Linked DNA regions of Homo sapiens: region 2 is linked to region 1. Evidence: promoter capture Hi-C in human tissues and cell types (Jung and others, 2019). All regions are on one chromosome and are shown on one strand. The core of a region is centred on a gene start or on the middle of the fragment in contact, and the rest is flanking DNA. Distances in the headings are between cores, read along the strand shown. Region 1 holds the start of TUBGCP6 (tubulin gamma complex component 6). Region 2 overlaps LOC124905149 (a long non-coding RNA gene).

The links. Contacts are between HindIII fragments. The study calls those that stand out against the background at their distance.
Region 2: a fragment that was not itself captured here is called in contact with the fragment with the promoter of TUBGCP6 in region 1 in 1 of the 25 tissues and cell types used here (spleen).

What each region holds. Positions count from the first base shown.
Region 1 is chr22:50,239,717-50,247,095 of GRCh38, forward strand. It overlaps TUBGCP6 (tubulin gamma complex component 6), which reads right to left and starts at 5,307. Exons shown (of 25, transcript NM_020461.4): 1 at 4,003-5,307; 2 at 488-651. The coding sequence starts at 4,743. It overlaps HDAC10 (histone deacetylase 10), which reads right to left. Exons shown (of 20, transcript NM_032019.6): 15 at 7,159-7,250; 16 at 6,963-7,019; 17 at 6,582-6,660; 18 at 6,194-6,376; 19 at 5,959-6,111; 20 at 5,467-5,814. The coding sequence ends at 5,791. RefSeq lists enhancers at 1,689-1,988, 3,896-4,826, 4,400-4,679, 5,090-5,139 and a silencer at 5,610-5,679. The HindIII fragment of the contact is 41,268 bases long and covers 1-7,379 here.
Region 2 is chr22:50,633,620-50,640,278 of GRCh38, forward strand. LOC124905149 (a long non-coding RNA gene) reads left to right here. Exons shown (of 2, transcript XR_007068161.1): 1 at 1-1,079; 2 at 1,924-2,387. Among named protein-coding and RNA genes, the nearest start is that of ARSA, 8.8 kb to the left of the region's middle. RefSeq lists enhancers at 1,643-2,159, 2,160-2,674. The HindIII fragment of the contact is 5,037 bases long and covers 1-3,769 here.

The DNA.
Region 1 (7,379 bases), core at 4,057-6,556:
TCATCAGCACCCCAATTCCTCTAGACATGAATGGAAAAGGCTCCTTCATCAGCACCCCATGCCCAGTGAGCATTTCTTCCTGGCACTAATCACACAGCCTGCCAGGCAGCTCTCTTGCTCTTAAGGACATAACTTAGCTGCCCCAACTGCTCTGCCTGGCAGGTGTGATCTGGTTACTGGCACGGGGAGGGGAGCTCTGCCCGACAGGTGTGATCTGGTTACTGGCACAGGGAGGGGAGTTCTGCCCGACAGGTGTGATCTGGTTACTGGATGGGGAGGTGAGGCCTCCTTAAAGGCTGTTAGTGCTTTCCCCTCTGCATCTCTCTTAACTCCCAGGACTCAGTCAATTTTGGACACTAGCTTAGGTTACTAACCCATCACAACTGCCTGGACCCCTGAGTACACAACGCCCCCCACACACCCCATCCAAGGCCACGCTCATGCAGGGGTAGGGGCACTGCATGCCAAGGCAAAGAAGGGCACACACCAGCCAACTCGCTCCCAGCACCTCCGCTTGCTGGCCTCATAGGTAAGTGCGGCTTCCCACAGGTCCACGTCTGGGGTCACGCTGGGCTCAGACTGGGAATCAGGAGTCAAGTTGGACGCTGACTGGAATCCTTCGTCTTCCCACTGATCCACACTCGGTGGGACCTGGAGACACAGGGAAGGGCAAACCGCCACTTATTGCTGTGTCCACGTTTCATCCAAGGGCGATGAGAATTTCAGGAACTTTATGCAAAGACCTAACAAAATGTTTCTTCTGTTTTTCTCAAGCGCATGTGTACCATACAATGTTTCCCACCAATGAGCCATTTAAGGAATTAAACAAAATAAGTCGTCAAGGCTGCCAATTTCCAATTCCATGTAACACATAAGCCTCAGTGGAACTTAGAGTGAAACTTTTTGAGATGCCTCAGACCTGGAAATTCCAATGTGGGGAACCCAGAATTAAAAAAATCACACTCAACATTAAAACACTACTGTACACCGGGGCCAGGCGCAGTGGCTCACGCCTGTAATCCCAGCACTATGGGAGGCTGAGGCAGGTGGATCACCTGAGGTCAGGAGTTTGAGACCAGCCTGGCCAGCATGTGAAACCCCGTCTCTACTAAAAATATAAAAATCGGCCAGGCGTGGTGGTGGGCACCTGTGGTCCCAGCTACTCGGGAGGCTGAGGCAGAAGAATTGCTTGAACCCGGGAAGCGGAGGTTGCAGTGAGCCGAGATTGCGCCACCACACTCCAGTCTGGGCGACAGAGCAAGACTGTGGGCAGCAAGCCACCCAGGTGCCGAGGCAAGAGACCGAGGGCACGAGCTGTTCTAGTACAATAAAATATATAGAACAAGAATAGTTACACTATAGATCATAAATATGATTATATATGAACGTTATTAATCATTAGTTTGTAGCAATTGCTCTTTATTCCAAGATTATAATAATCTTCGCTCTACAATTGTAACTTACGAGAAACCAGGCCATACAGAGACAGGAGCTGAAGGGGCAAGGTGAGAAGTGACCAGAAGACAAGAGTGTGAGCCTTCTGTCATGCCCAGACAGGGCCACTAGAGGGCTCCTTAGTCTAGTGGTAATGGCAGCACCTGGGAAGACGCCCATTACCTAGCGGACCTTGGTCTAGCGGTAGCGTCAGTGCCTAGGAAAAGCACCCACTACTTAGCAGACCAGGAAAGGGAGTCTCCCTTTCCCTGGGGGAGTTAGAGAAGACTCTGCTCCACCACCTCTTGTGGAGGGCCTGACATGACTCAGGCCCACCCGCAGTTATCCAGAGGCCTAAACGTCTCCCTGTGATGCTGTGCTTCAGCAGTCACACTCCTAGTCCACTTTCATGTTCCATCCTGTACACCTGGCTCTGCCTTCTAGATAGCAGTAGCAAATTAGTGAAAGTACTAAAAGTCTCTGAAATGCAGAAATAATGGTGTAAGCTGTCTCCTCTCTCTCTGCTTCGGCTGCCAAACAGGGAAGGGCCCCCTGTCCAGTTGACACGTGACCCACGTGACCTTACCTATCATTGGAGATGACTCACACTCCTTACCCTGCCCCTTTTGCCTTGTATCCAATAAATAACAGCGCAGCCTGGCATTTGGGGCCACTACTGGTCTCCACGTGTTGGTGGTAGTGATCCCCCGGGCCCAGCTGTTTTTTCTTCTATCTCTGTCTTGTGTCTTTATTTCTACCATCTCTGGTCTCCGCATATGGAGAGAAAAACCCACAGACCCTGTAGGGCTGGTCCCTACACAAGACTCCATCTCAAAAAAAAAAAAAAAAAAAAAAAAAAGAACAATCAGGCCGGGCTCACGCCTGTAATCCCAGCACTTTGGGAGGCCGAGGCGGGCAGATCACGAGGTGAGGAGATAGAGACCATCCTGGCTAACACGGTGAAACCCCGTCTCTACTAAATATACAAAAAATTCGCAGGGCGTGGTGGCAGGCACCTGTAGTCCCAGCTACTCAGGAGGCTGAGGCGGGAGAATGGCGTGAACCTGGGAGGCAGAGCTTGCAGTGAGCCAAGATTGTGCCACCGCACTCGAGCCTGGGCGACAGAGCGAGACTGTGTCAAAAAAAAAAATCAAATAAAATAAAAAAATAAAAATACAAACATATAAAATACAAAAATTAGCTGTGTGTGGTGACGCACACCTGTAGTCCCAGATACTTAGGAGGCTGAGGCAGGAGAATCGCTTGAACCCAGGAGATGGAGGTTGCAGTGAGCCGAGACCACACCACTGCACTCCAGCCTGGGCGACAGAGCAAGACTTGTCTCAAAAACAAAAAACAAAACTGCTGTACACCAAGACATTTGCTGTAGCATTATGTATGTTTCTAAATCATCTAGCTATCGCATAAGAATAGAACGACTAGTAACAATGTATCCTTTTGGCAACACTGATAAAGCAATAAAATACAAAACTCAAATGAGGAGCTACAGCGTACCATGGTAAAGCCTCAGGCGACAGACAGCAAAAACATATCCAATTGCACGAATTACAGAACATGAACACTTTTGCCACACGTGGCTACTGAGCACTTGAAATGTGGCTTGTGGGGCTGAGGAACTGAGTATTTTATTTTGTTTTAATTAACTTCAATTTAAACGGCAGCTCTAGAAGGCAGAGGTGGCTTAACGATATACCCCATTAGGTAAAGATGAAAAGCAGCATGTTGCTTTGGCCGGCAGGTGGGCAGCACTGTCGCTGCAGAGGAGGGTGGCCGCCAGTAAGCCCACTCCAGCAGCCCCACCTCAGGACAATGCAGCCACCAGACTATCCCCCCTTTTACCATGATAAAAGGAAGGTCACCGGGCCGGGCACAGTGGCTCATGCCTGTAATCCCAGCACTTTGGGAGGCCGAGACGGGTGGATCATTTGAGGTCAGGAGTTGGAGACCAGCCTGGCCAACATGGTGAAACCCCGCCTCTACTAAAAATACAAAAATTAGTTGGGCATGGTGGCTCACGCCTGTAATCCCAGCACTTTGGGAGGCCGAGGCAGGCGGATCAAGAGGTCAGGAGTTCAAGACCAGCCTAGCCAGCATGGTGAAACCCCATCTCTACTAAAAATACAAAACTTAGCTGGGCGTGGTGGCATGCACCTAAATCCCAGCTACAGCTACTCGGGAGGCTGAGGTAGGAGAATCACTTGACCCCGGGAGGCGGCGGTTACAGTGAGCCGAGATCGCGCCACGGCACTCCAGCCTGGGCAACAGAGCAAGACTCCATCTCAAAAAAAAAAAAAAATTAAGCCGGGCGTGGTGGCAGGTGCCTGTAATTTCAGCTACTCGGGAGGCTGAGGTACGAGAATTGCTTGAGCCCAGAAAGTGGAGGTTAAGGTGAGCCAAGATCGCGCCACTGCACTCCAGCCTGGGTGACAGAGTGAGACACTGTCTCAAAAAAAAAAAAAAAAAGAAGAAGAAGAAGAAGAAGAAAGGTCACAGGAAGCATTTTCCAAACCCCGAGAGAGATGAAAGAGGAAAAACTAAACATTCTACCTTAATAGCCAGCCCAGAGAGGTCCGCATTGTCTGGCACGGGGGGCAGGCCCAGTCGGACGTCCATGTCATAAGTGCGGCTGTGCACAAGGGCCCCGAAGAGCGAGACCCGGGTGTCTCTCTCGAACCTGTCACCACAAGGGTCACCAAATGAGAAGAGCCCGACGGTGGGCAGGCCAGTGCCTGGAGCAGCCTCCATAACCTGAAGTGTTTCCTGGATCATGCTGTGACACAAACACTCTTCTCTGGAGATCAGAGACTGAACGTCCATCTCAAACACACTCAGGTCGTCGCAATCATAGCCGCTGTACGGAACGTTTCTCCCCACATGCTTGTTGTTAAGGAAGTAGTCTCGTTTTCTCGGCAGAACTTGAGGGGGACCACTCCCTGCCAGCTGAACCAGGAGGTCCAAAACAGACCCCACCTCCAAAAGCGGACAGCAAGGGGCTGCTTCCAGCTCCTCCACAAGCTCCTCCAAACGGTCGGCCTTGGGGCCCAGGCCACCCACTCTCAAGTCAAAGGACAACATGAGGATCTTGTTTCTCGCTGGTAGTTTTGACATGTCAGGCTGCAGCTGTTGAGTCTCATCTTGAAAAAGATTTGTGAAAAGAGCATTGTAGGCCACCTTCTTGAGGCTCCGCTTTGCCCTCTTCCGGTTCACACTGCGCTGGCCCAGGTGAGTCTTGGCAGCCGGCAGGAGGGCCTCACACAGGTCGTCGAACAGCTGCGTGATGCTGGCCATGCCCCTTCTCAGCTCCGGGCCCCCGGCGTGTGGGAAAACACCTCACCCGGGCTTCACTCACGCTCCGGAAGACAGGGAGTGAGAGAGGGTCCGAAGAGGCTGAATGACAGGCGGCCTCTCCAATGCCGAAGCTCAGAACTGGTATTTTTTAAAGGAGGTCTTGCGGTTGCTCTACTCAGAGTAAACACGCCCTGCCCTCCCCAGTCCAAGCACGCTGCCCGGCGCCCGGCAGCCCACCAGAAGCCAGCTCGGCGTTTCTTCTAATTCAGTAGCCCTCAACCTTTAGGGAGTCACAGAACCGTGGCAAAACCGAAGAACGAAACGCGCGCCCGCGCAGTACAGCGGACGAACTCGGCTTTGCACCCGTTCTTCGGGACCCACGAGAGGAGACGGCCAGGAGAGGGTGCCACTCCGAGGGTCGTGGGCAGCGGAGAGTCTGGGGGCTCAGCCGGGTGGGTCCCGGGTTCTGGCCTGCACGTCCACCCGTTCTCCAGGCCTCACCCGTGGAAAGTGCCCACGGCTGCCGCTCTCGCCGCCTCCGTCGCGTCACAGCCGCGCCAGTGTGAAGAGCACTAGGGCGGGCGCGCCGGAAATACGTCACGGGAACGCCGGCAGCGCGTGAAGTTGGTGAGGCCTGGGCCGCGGCATACTTCCGGCCTGAGTCCGGCACCGCGGGTGAGAGACCGAGGCCGAGCGTGCTCAGTAAAGGAGGCAGAGCCAGCGTTTCGTTTGAGCGATGTTTACTAACGGCGCAAGGGCGGGGAGCGAAGCGCAGCGGGGCGCAGGGGCCGGAACGGGACCGAGCGTGGGTTGCATGGGCCTCGATGGGACGGGCCGGGGCGCGATGGGTGGGGCGGGGGCGAGGTGAGGTGAGGGGTGGAGCGGGGGAAGCACGGGTGGGAGAGGGCGGGGCGCGGGGATTGGGAGTGGGCGGGGTTCCGTGCCCCAGAGTCGAGGGAGCCGTGGGCTTGGGGTCCGGATCGCGGCCGCGGGGCGCTGGCGTGCGGTGTCATTTCTGCGGTGTAAATGCTCCCACCTTGGCCGATTTCAAGCCACCAGGTGAGGATGGCACTACAGGAGGAGCCGAGAAGAGGCGCGCAGTTGGCCTCCGGCGCTGGAGCTGGTTCAGGGCACTCCCCTGCCCTGCCCTCCCCACCGATCTGTGCGGCAGAGCCAGGCCCCAGGGCAGGGCCATGCCTCCGCAGTCAGCCTCACCTGCAACATCTTCCACTGAGGCTCCAGCTGCCCTCTCAGGTACATCAGGGCCTGGACGTCCTCTGGGGAGGCCACAGAGGAAGGGCCTAGGCTAGGAGGTGCCTCTCCATTCAGCACCCGGGCCAGGATCCCTGCTAGCTGGGGTGTGGAGTTCTGGACCAGGGGCGAAGACGGAAGCAGTCACTGGTCCTTTCCCTCGTCCCACCCCGCAGCACCTCCACCCTGCCCAGCTTACCTCCTCCAGGAGGGCCAGGACTCGGCCCCCTGCCAGCCCCCGAAGCATTGCAGCCAGGAGTGCAGCGTGGGGGCCCTGCAGGCCATGGCCAGGCCCCAGCGCCACCAGCACCAGGTCAGGCTGGAAGCCATAGGCCAGGGGCAGCACCAAGCCCAAGATGCAGCTCAGGAAACCACCGGTCATCTGTGGGGACAGCAGAGCCCAGCTCCTCATCTACGGACACCTGCTGGCTCTGGCCTCCCAACCTCCCAATCTCAGGGCCCCTGGAGTAGGAGCAGGGAGACAGGAAGGACCAGAGGCCTGCTATCATGACAATGCCAGCAAACAGCAGCTGTACACATCCATGGGCTCCCCAGCACCTGCCTTGCCGCGTGGCATGGTCACTCACCACTGGCAGTGGCGTGGAGACATGGAACATGGATAGGGCAGCCGCCTCCTTGCCCCTGATGTTCAGCCACAGACTCCTCCTTCCAGGACACAGGTGCATAAGTGTAAGGCCCTGCTCACCCTCCTGAGCCCAAACCGCAGAGGCAGAGGTGGAAGAGCATTCACGGGGCCATGGGCAGGGGTGCTGTGACTGCTGAGCCTCTGTGCTGGAGACCCACCTGGCATTGCCTCCAGCAGCCCTTCTCCCACACCCCAGCTGAGGAAGGCTCCATTCAGTACCACACAGTGCCCCACCCACCCGTCACCCTGGGGCCCAGGCACACGTCCATCACATGCCCGTCCACATGCATGGCTGGACATATGCAAGACCTGAGAGTCCTACCCGTCATGGGCGAGGTCTGGAGGCCGGTCCAGCTGTCCCAGGGCCACGCACAGCAGCCTGGAAGAAGAGCTGGCCTCAGGACAGGTGTTCATGTTGTCCAGAGTCCATTCCCAGAACTCTCTGTGCTTGGCCAGCCAGGATAGGGGTGCCCACAGGTCCTGCCGTCAGAGGCTCAGGATGGCCAAGTGAGGCTTACCTCTGGGCTCCGTGGGACAGGCCTCTCCGAACAGCCACATCCAGGGTGGCTGCTGCAGCAGAGGCTGGAGTGGCTGCTATACCACTGTTCACCTGTGGGATGAATAAACAGTGGAGAATGAGGCACCAACCAACTCCCAAGCCAGGTAAACAGATCCACAGTTCCCTTCATTCGGTGTGTCTCTGCGGCTACTGTCAGCCACACATCTTCTTACACTAAGG
Region 2 (6,659 bases), core at 1-2,500, 390 kb after region 1:
GATGAGAAAAATGTAAAATTGTATTGGCCTTTTAGAACCTTAACATTTTTCCAAATTGGCTCCTCTAAGGATTGCAGTCCCATTTACTTCTACCCCTCCGTGCTCCTCCATCCCCTTTGCCATCTTTGGTACCTAATGAAGGGATCTACAAGGGACTTCTGATGACTTAGAGACCCCTTGGGGAACGCAAAGAAAGGTGCCACGCGCCCCGCTTTTGTCTTCCTTATGGGGCCTGAGGAGTCGTGGGTAGCTTCCTCTCGGGTCTAAAGCTTGGCTGTCTTTGGCACTGTGTCACTGGATCTCTTTGGCTTTGGGGGTACCAGGGATTACGTTGCACTGTGAGACAGTGCATGACCTGAGTGTGTGTGATGGCCGGCAGGTCACTGGCGAGGGCTGCCTCACAGTTTTGGAGGTGGCTGAAAGCAGTTGTAGTGAATGGTTGTTCCTGCAGTGGCTGCTTGTTTCTCTGCATGTTTAGATGAGAAAGGCACAATCTGAACACTTGGAGACTATGGAAGCACTTGGCGTCAAAGGCTGAGACTCCGTGGGCTGATTGCTGTGGGTCTCCCACCAGCCTCAGGGGAATGTCTTCATAGTGAGGTACACTGTGGAAACACTGTATGGCTTTGTCTCATATATATCTCTTTTTAGAGGGAACTCAGCATTCAGTGTAAATGTGGGATCCTTGATTTTAAAAGATCTAGATGCTCTGCCTTCCAGCTGCACCTGTTTTTCACATATTTAAATATTAGGTCCTCCAAACTGCAAATGCTTTTTTGGCCATGTTCATTAATGAGCTCTGTCCTGAGCCCAGTGGTCTAGTTCAAAAATGGAGAATAAATTAATAGCCACATATTTAAATAACATTGTTGTCCTTATAAAATCCTGTGGTGAATTTCTATGACTTTTTGTTACCTCAGCATCCATTTAAAATCTTCCTTTAACATACTAAATCAAAGCTTAAACTTTCTCCCTGTGGAATTGCTTGAACCAAGGAGGCAGAGGTTGCAGTGAGTCAAGATCGTGCCGTTGCACTCCAACCTGGGCGACAGAGCAAGACTCCGTCTTGAAAAAATTCAGTAAATAAAAATAATTTTTTTTTCTCTGTGCTTCAAGATGTAAATTTGTTGCCTTGTTTTCTCTAAAACTTGGTAAGGGCTTTGGCCGTGTGAGACAGATAAATTTTACCTTGTTCCATTTACAGAGGCACAATTTTAAGTATCCTTTTAAACTAGTGATTTTTACCCGATTCGTGGCTAAAATCTTAAAACTAAAGCTATAAAATCTTGATTTGTGTCTGTATTTTTATGTGTACATGCCTGTTTGTATATTATGTACATAGTAGCAAATTGACGTATAAATAAATAAGTGCTCATGAATGATGTAACTAAACCCAGATGCTTTTCTAGTTCATGTGACTAGTAATCTTTGGCAAATAAACTTAGTTTTAAAATTGTTGCTGCTGGGTGCAGTGGCTCACACCTGTAATCCCAGCACTTTGGGAGGCTGAGGCGGGCAAATCACGAGGTCAAGAGATCGAGACCATCCTGGCCAACATGGTGAAACCCCGTCTCTACTAAAAATACAAAAATTAGCCAGGCGTGGTGGCATGCGCCTGTAGTCCTAGCTACTCAGGAGGCTGAGGCAGGAGAATCACTTGAACCTGGGAGGTAGAGGTTGCAGTGAGCCGAGACTGCACTACTGCACTCTAGCCTGGGTGACAGAGTGAGACTCCATCTCAAAAAAAAAAATGATGCTAAAATTAGAATATCTTCAAAGTCGTCAGTCTTAAATATAATTGAGACATCTTTGCTTGGGCCCATTGGTCGGACAGGTTCAGACAGTCTCTGTTAGATGCTTTAAGGTCATAAAATTTGCTTCTGTCATATTTCTGATACTTGCTTAATTTGTCTGTGAACTTAGGTCTTTGGCTTTGAGCCTCTACATTCTGGGGTCAAGACAAGTGGACATGATGTGGCCTGGAGACATCTGTGTGTCCGCAGTACCTAAGCCCCATCCTCCCTGGCCCAGCTGTACCCCCCGGTCATGCTGTTTGTCTGCAGTGCCCGAGCCCCGTCCTCCCTAGCCCAGCTGTGCCCCCCGGCCATACTGTGTGTCTGCAGTGCCTGAGCCCCGTCCTCCCTAGCCCAGCTGTGCGCCCCAGCCATGCTGTGTGTCTGCAGTGCCCGAGCATTGTCCTCTCTTGCCCAGCTGTGCCCCCCGGTCATGCTGTGTGTCTGCAGTGCCCGAGCATTGTCCTCCCTGGCCCAGCTGTGCCCCCCGGTCATGCTGGGAGGGGTTGAGTCCTCCAGGCATTGTCTTTGTAGTAGCCCATTCTCACACTGCTAATAAAGACATACCTGAGACTGGGTGATTTGTAAAGGAAAGAGGTTTAATTGACTCACAGTTCAGCGTGGCTGGGAAGCCTCAGGAAACTTACAATCATGGCGGAAGAGGAAGCAAACACGTTCTTCACATGAGGTCAGGAAGGAGGTGTGCAGAGCGAAGAGTGGGGAAGCACCTCATGAAACCATGAGACCTCGTGAGAACTCACTAGCACAAAAACAGCGTGGGGGAACCGCCCCCTTCATCTAATCACCTCCCACTGGGTCCCTCCCACAACACCTGTGGATTTTGGGAACTACAGTTCAAGATGAGATTTGGGTGGGGACACAGCCAAACCATATCAGTCTTTAAAGCTCTGTCCTTTGTCCTGGGCTTTGCATCTTTAATAACAATTAAAATTGCTTACTTCCCATGTTTTTCACTGAAAATTAGGCTTCCTAAGAGTTAACATTGTAATTAATATATGTATTTAAAACTACTAGATATAAGAGAAACACTTCTGTATGCAAAGTTTATAAGAAAGTAGGATGTGTTTTTGGTAAGGAAGGTTATAAAGAAGGCATGAGAATGAGGTTTTTGTTAAAGGAAAAGTAATTTTGTCTAGTTTTGATGTTTTTAAAGGTTGTTTTAAATTAAAGGAATAAAAAAATGATAGATAAAACTGAATATATATAGAAAGTTTGAGAAACAAAGAATGGAACAAATTTTAAGAGGTTATTAAAGGTTTATGGAAATCTTATGTGGTCAAAGCTGATTGAGATTGAATGGATCTGTTTTTAAGTTTTTATTAAAATTAGCTTTAGTATTAATAATATGCTAATGTAAAGGTAGAATTTAGTTTTCATTTTTGAGTAAGATTTTCATGTAGTATTAATAAGAGACAGTAAAAGATTTTTGTTTACCTTTTGAGTAAACTACAAGAAAAGGAGGAGTAGGCCCGGTACGGTGGTTCACACCTGTAATCCCAGCACTTTGGGAGGCCGAGGTGGGTGGATCACCTGAGGTCAGGCGTTTGAGACTAGCCTGGCCAAGATGGTGAAACCCCATCTCTACTAAAAATACAAAAATTAGCCAGGCGTGGTGGCGCCTGCCTGTAGTCCCAGCTACTCAGGAGGCCGAGGCAGGAGAATCGCTTGAACCCGGGAGGCGGAGGTTGCAGTGAGCTGAGATTGTGCCACTGCACTCCAGCCTGGGCAACAAGAGTGAGACTCTGTCTCACAAAAAAAAAGGAGGAGTAGAGAGTTTGCCTCATGCTGTCTTTATTTATTTATTTATTATTTTGGAGACAGGATCTTGCTGTGCCACCCAGGCTCATCTCGAACTCCTGAGCTCAAGCAGCCCTCCTGCCTTGGTCTCCCAAAGTGCAGGGATTACAGGTATGAGCCACCACGCCTGGCTCAAAATTATAATTATTATGTTAAATTGTTGTATGTCACACAAAAAAACAAATCTCCTTGTGAATTGCATCTGTAACCATCATTAGTCTAAGTCATCTGTCATCCACAGTCAATTACTGTTTTACTTTGATTCTTTTTAAAAAGCAGCTTATAATTAGCTACAGTTCAAGACTTGCTTCTTCCTCAAGGAAACTCATGTAAAGTACCCAGACAAGTACTTTTTTTTTTTTTTTTTTTTTTTGGTTTTTGGTTTTTTTTTTTTGAGACCGATCTCGCTCTGTCGCCCAGGCTGGAGTGTAGTGGCGCGGTCTTGGCTCACTGCAAGCTCCGTCTCCCGGGTTCATGCCATTCTCCTGCCTTAGCCTCCTGAGTAGCTGGTACTACAGGCGCCCGCCACCACACGTGGCTGATTTTCTTTGTATTTTTAGTAGAGATGGGGTTTCACTGTGTTAGCCAGGATAGTCTTGATCTCCTGAGCCCACGATCCGCCCGCCTCGGCCTCCCAAAGTGCTGGGATTACAGGCGTGAGCCACCATGCCCGGCCTCAAGATGCTTTTAAAAGTCTAATCTGAGATTCCTTATGAAAAAGTTCTGGCAAAGCCAACTTTAAAAGAGGTTGAATGGCCAGTCACTATTATTACTGTACTTTATGCAAATAATCAGGCCAATTATAATAAGACTAAAACTTATTTTGTAAATCAGTTGTTCTTACTCTGATTTGTCTTTTGTGGAAAAGGGAGACTGGAGAGAGAAAAAATATGTTTTAGAAGAAAACTATAGTATACCTGTTATTAGAGTCCAGACTGACTGTTGACACCTGTTATTAGAGTCCGGACTGACTGTTGACACCTGTCACGAGAGTCCGGACTGACTGTTGACACCTGTCACAAGAGTCCGGACTGACTGTTGACACCTGTCATTAGAGTCCGGACTGACTGTTGACACCTGCCGTGAGGAGAGTCCGGACTGACTGTTGACACCTGTTATTAGAGTCCGGACTGACTGTTGACACCTGTTATTAGAGTCCGGACTGACTGTTGACACCTGTTATTAGAGTCCGGACTGACTGTTGACACCTGTTACGAGAGTCCGGACTGACTTGTTTTTGAGTTGTTATCATTTGCCTATAGTTTGAACTGAATCCTGCATTCTTTCCTAGCTCCAAGTCTCTAAACTAATGCTTTCCAGTTTTTCTCCCATTTTTCTGATTTAAAATCACTGGAAATTAAAATGGCTTTTCTTGAAGCCCTGCAACTGAAGCTAAATTACTTATAATCTTCAGGAGAAATCATCACAGCGACTTATGTATAAATAGCCTTTGTGCCTGTTGATATATGGACTATTCAGAAAGTTCACTTGAACACCCAATTAGAACTACAATCCAGAAAAATCTGTCAAATTGCCATTGCAATCTGAAGATGCTCCAGATGCCTCAGATTGAGGAGAGCTAGAAAAGCTAGTCTATGGATGACACCAGACATTCACCGTTTTTTTTCTTCTGTTTCCATAGAATTGTATCTTGTTAAAGATCTGTTTGTGTGAATTATATACGAGGTCCCAGCCCATCTGCAATGCCACTTCTTGGAATAGGATACAGCTGTTTAACTGAGCTGATCTAGTCTCAGGACTAAGAGACGGATTCAAGAAAATATGGCATGATACATATCTATTTTTCAGAGACAGGGTCTCACTCACTCACCCACAAAGTGGTGTGATCACAGCTCTCTGCAGACTTGACTTCCCAGGCTCAGGTCATCCTGCTGCATCAGCCTCCCAGGTAGCTGGGACCACAGACACAAACTACCATGCCTGGCTAATTTTTTATTTTTTGTAGCAATAGAGTCTCCCTGTGATGCCCGGGCTGGTCTGAACACCTGGGCTCAAGTGCTCCTCCTGCCTCAGCTTCCCAAAGTGCTGAGATTTACAGCCATGAGCCACTGTGCCCTGCCAGGATGACATTTAAATTTGTCTTTTTCTGCTTATCCCAATTTCTTTTTGCCCGCCTCTGCCTGTCTCTTATCTAACAACCTCTAACTCAAATCTCTTCAAAGCTATCAACTTTCTTTTTATATGGGCAACTTTCTGAAAGTCTCAAAGTGGGGACTGAAGGAAACCAAAATATTTCGCCCCAAAATGTATTTCCATGGCTGGGCATGGTGACTCACGCCTGTAATCCCAGCACTTCGTGAGGCCGAGGTGGGCAGATCACCTGAGGTCAGGAGTTTGAGACCAGGCTGGCCAACATGGCGAGACCCCGTCTCTACTAAAAATACAAAAATTAGCCAGGCATGGTGGTGCATGCCTGTAATCCCAGGGAGGCTGAAGCAGGAGAATCACTTGAACCCAGTAGGTGGAGGTTGCAGTGAGCTGAGATTGCACCACTGCACTCCAGCCTGGGTGACGGAGTGAGACTCTGCCTCAAAACAAACAAACAACAACAACAAAAATATTTCCTTGACACGGTTCAAGACAGTTACTCAGAAGGACTGGAAATAGAAGAATAGCTGAAAAGCTGTCTTTTGTGGGGGAGATTTGCATCTGTGGAGAGAATCTACACTGATGCGGCCAGGCCTCCTCTGAGGCCCTCCTTGCCTGATCTGGGAAGAGTAACAGTCTGACGCCTTTAAAGGCCTGAAGGGAACATTCACCATCTGTTCTCTCTCAGGGCTGCTACCTGTGAGGTTTCATCTGTAGAACAAGGCCACCTTTGCTAGCCAGGCCTCCTCTGCTCTCCCTCCTGTAACCGGTCTTGCCACTGGTCACCTGATTTTCCACCATAAACTGTGGCCATACTTTGAGCCCATGTTCTTTCTGTAACCTCAAGATGGTATATAAGCTTCCGAACCCCATTGGGAGGTTGGGGTCATCACTCTGGTTCTCCCTGTGTGCATGAATAAATCTGTATGCCTTTTCTCT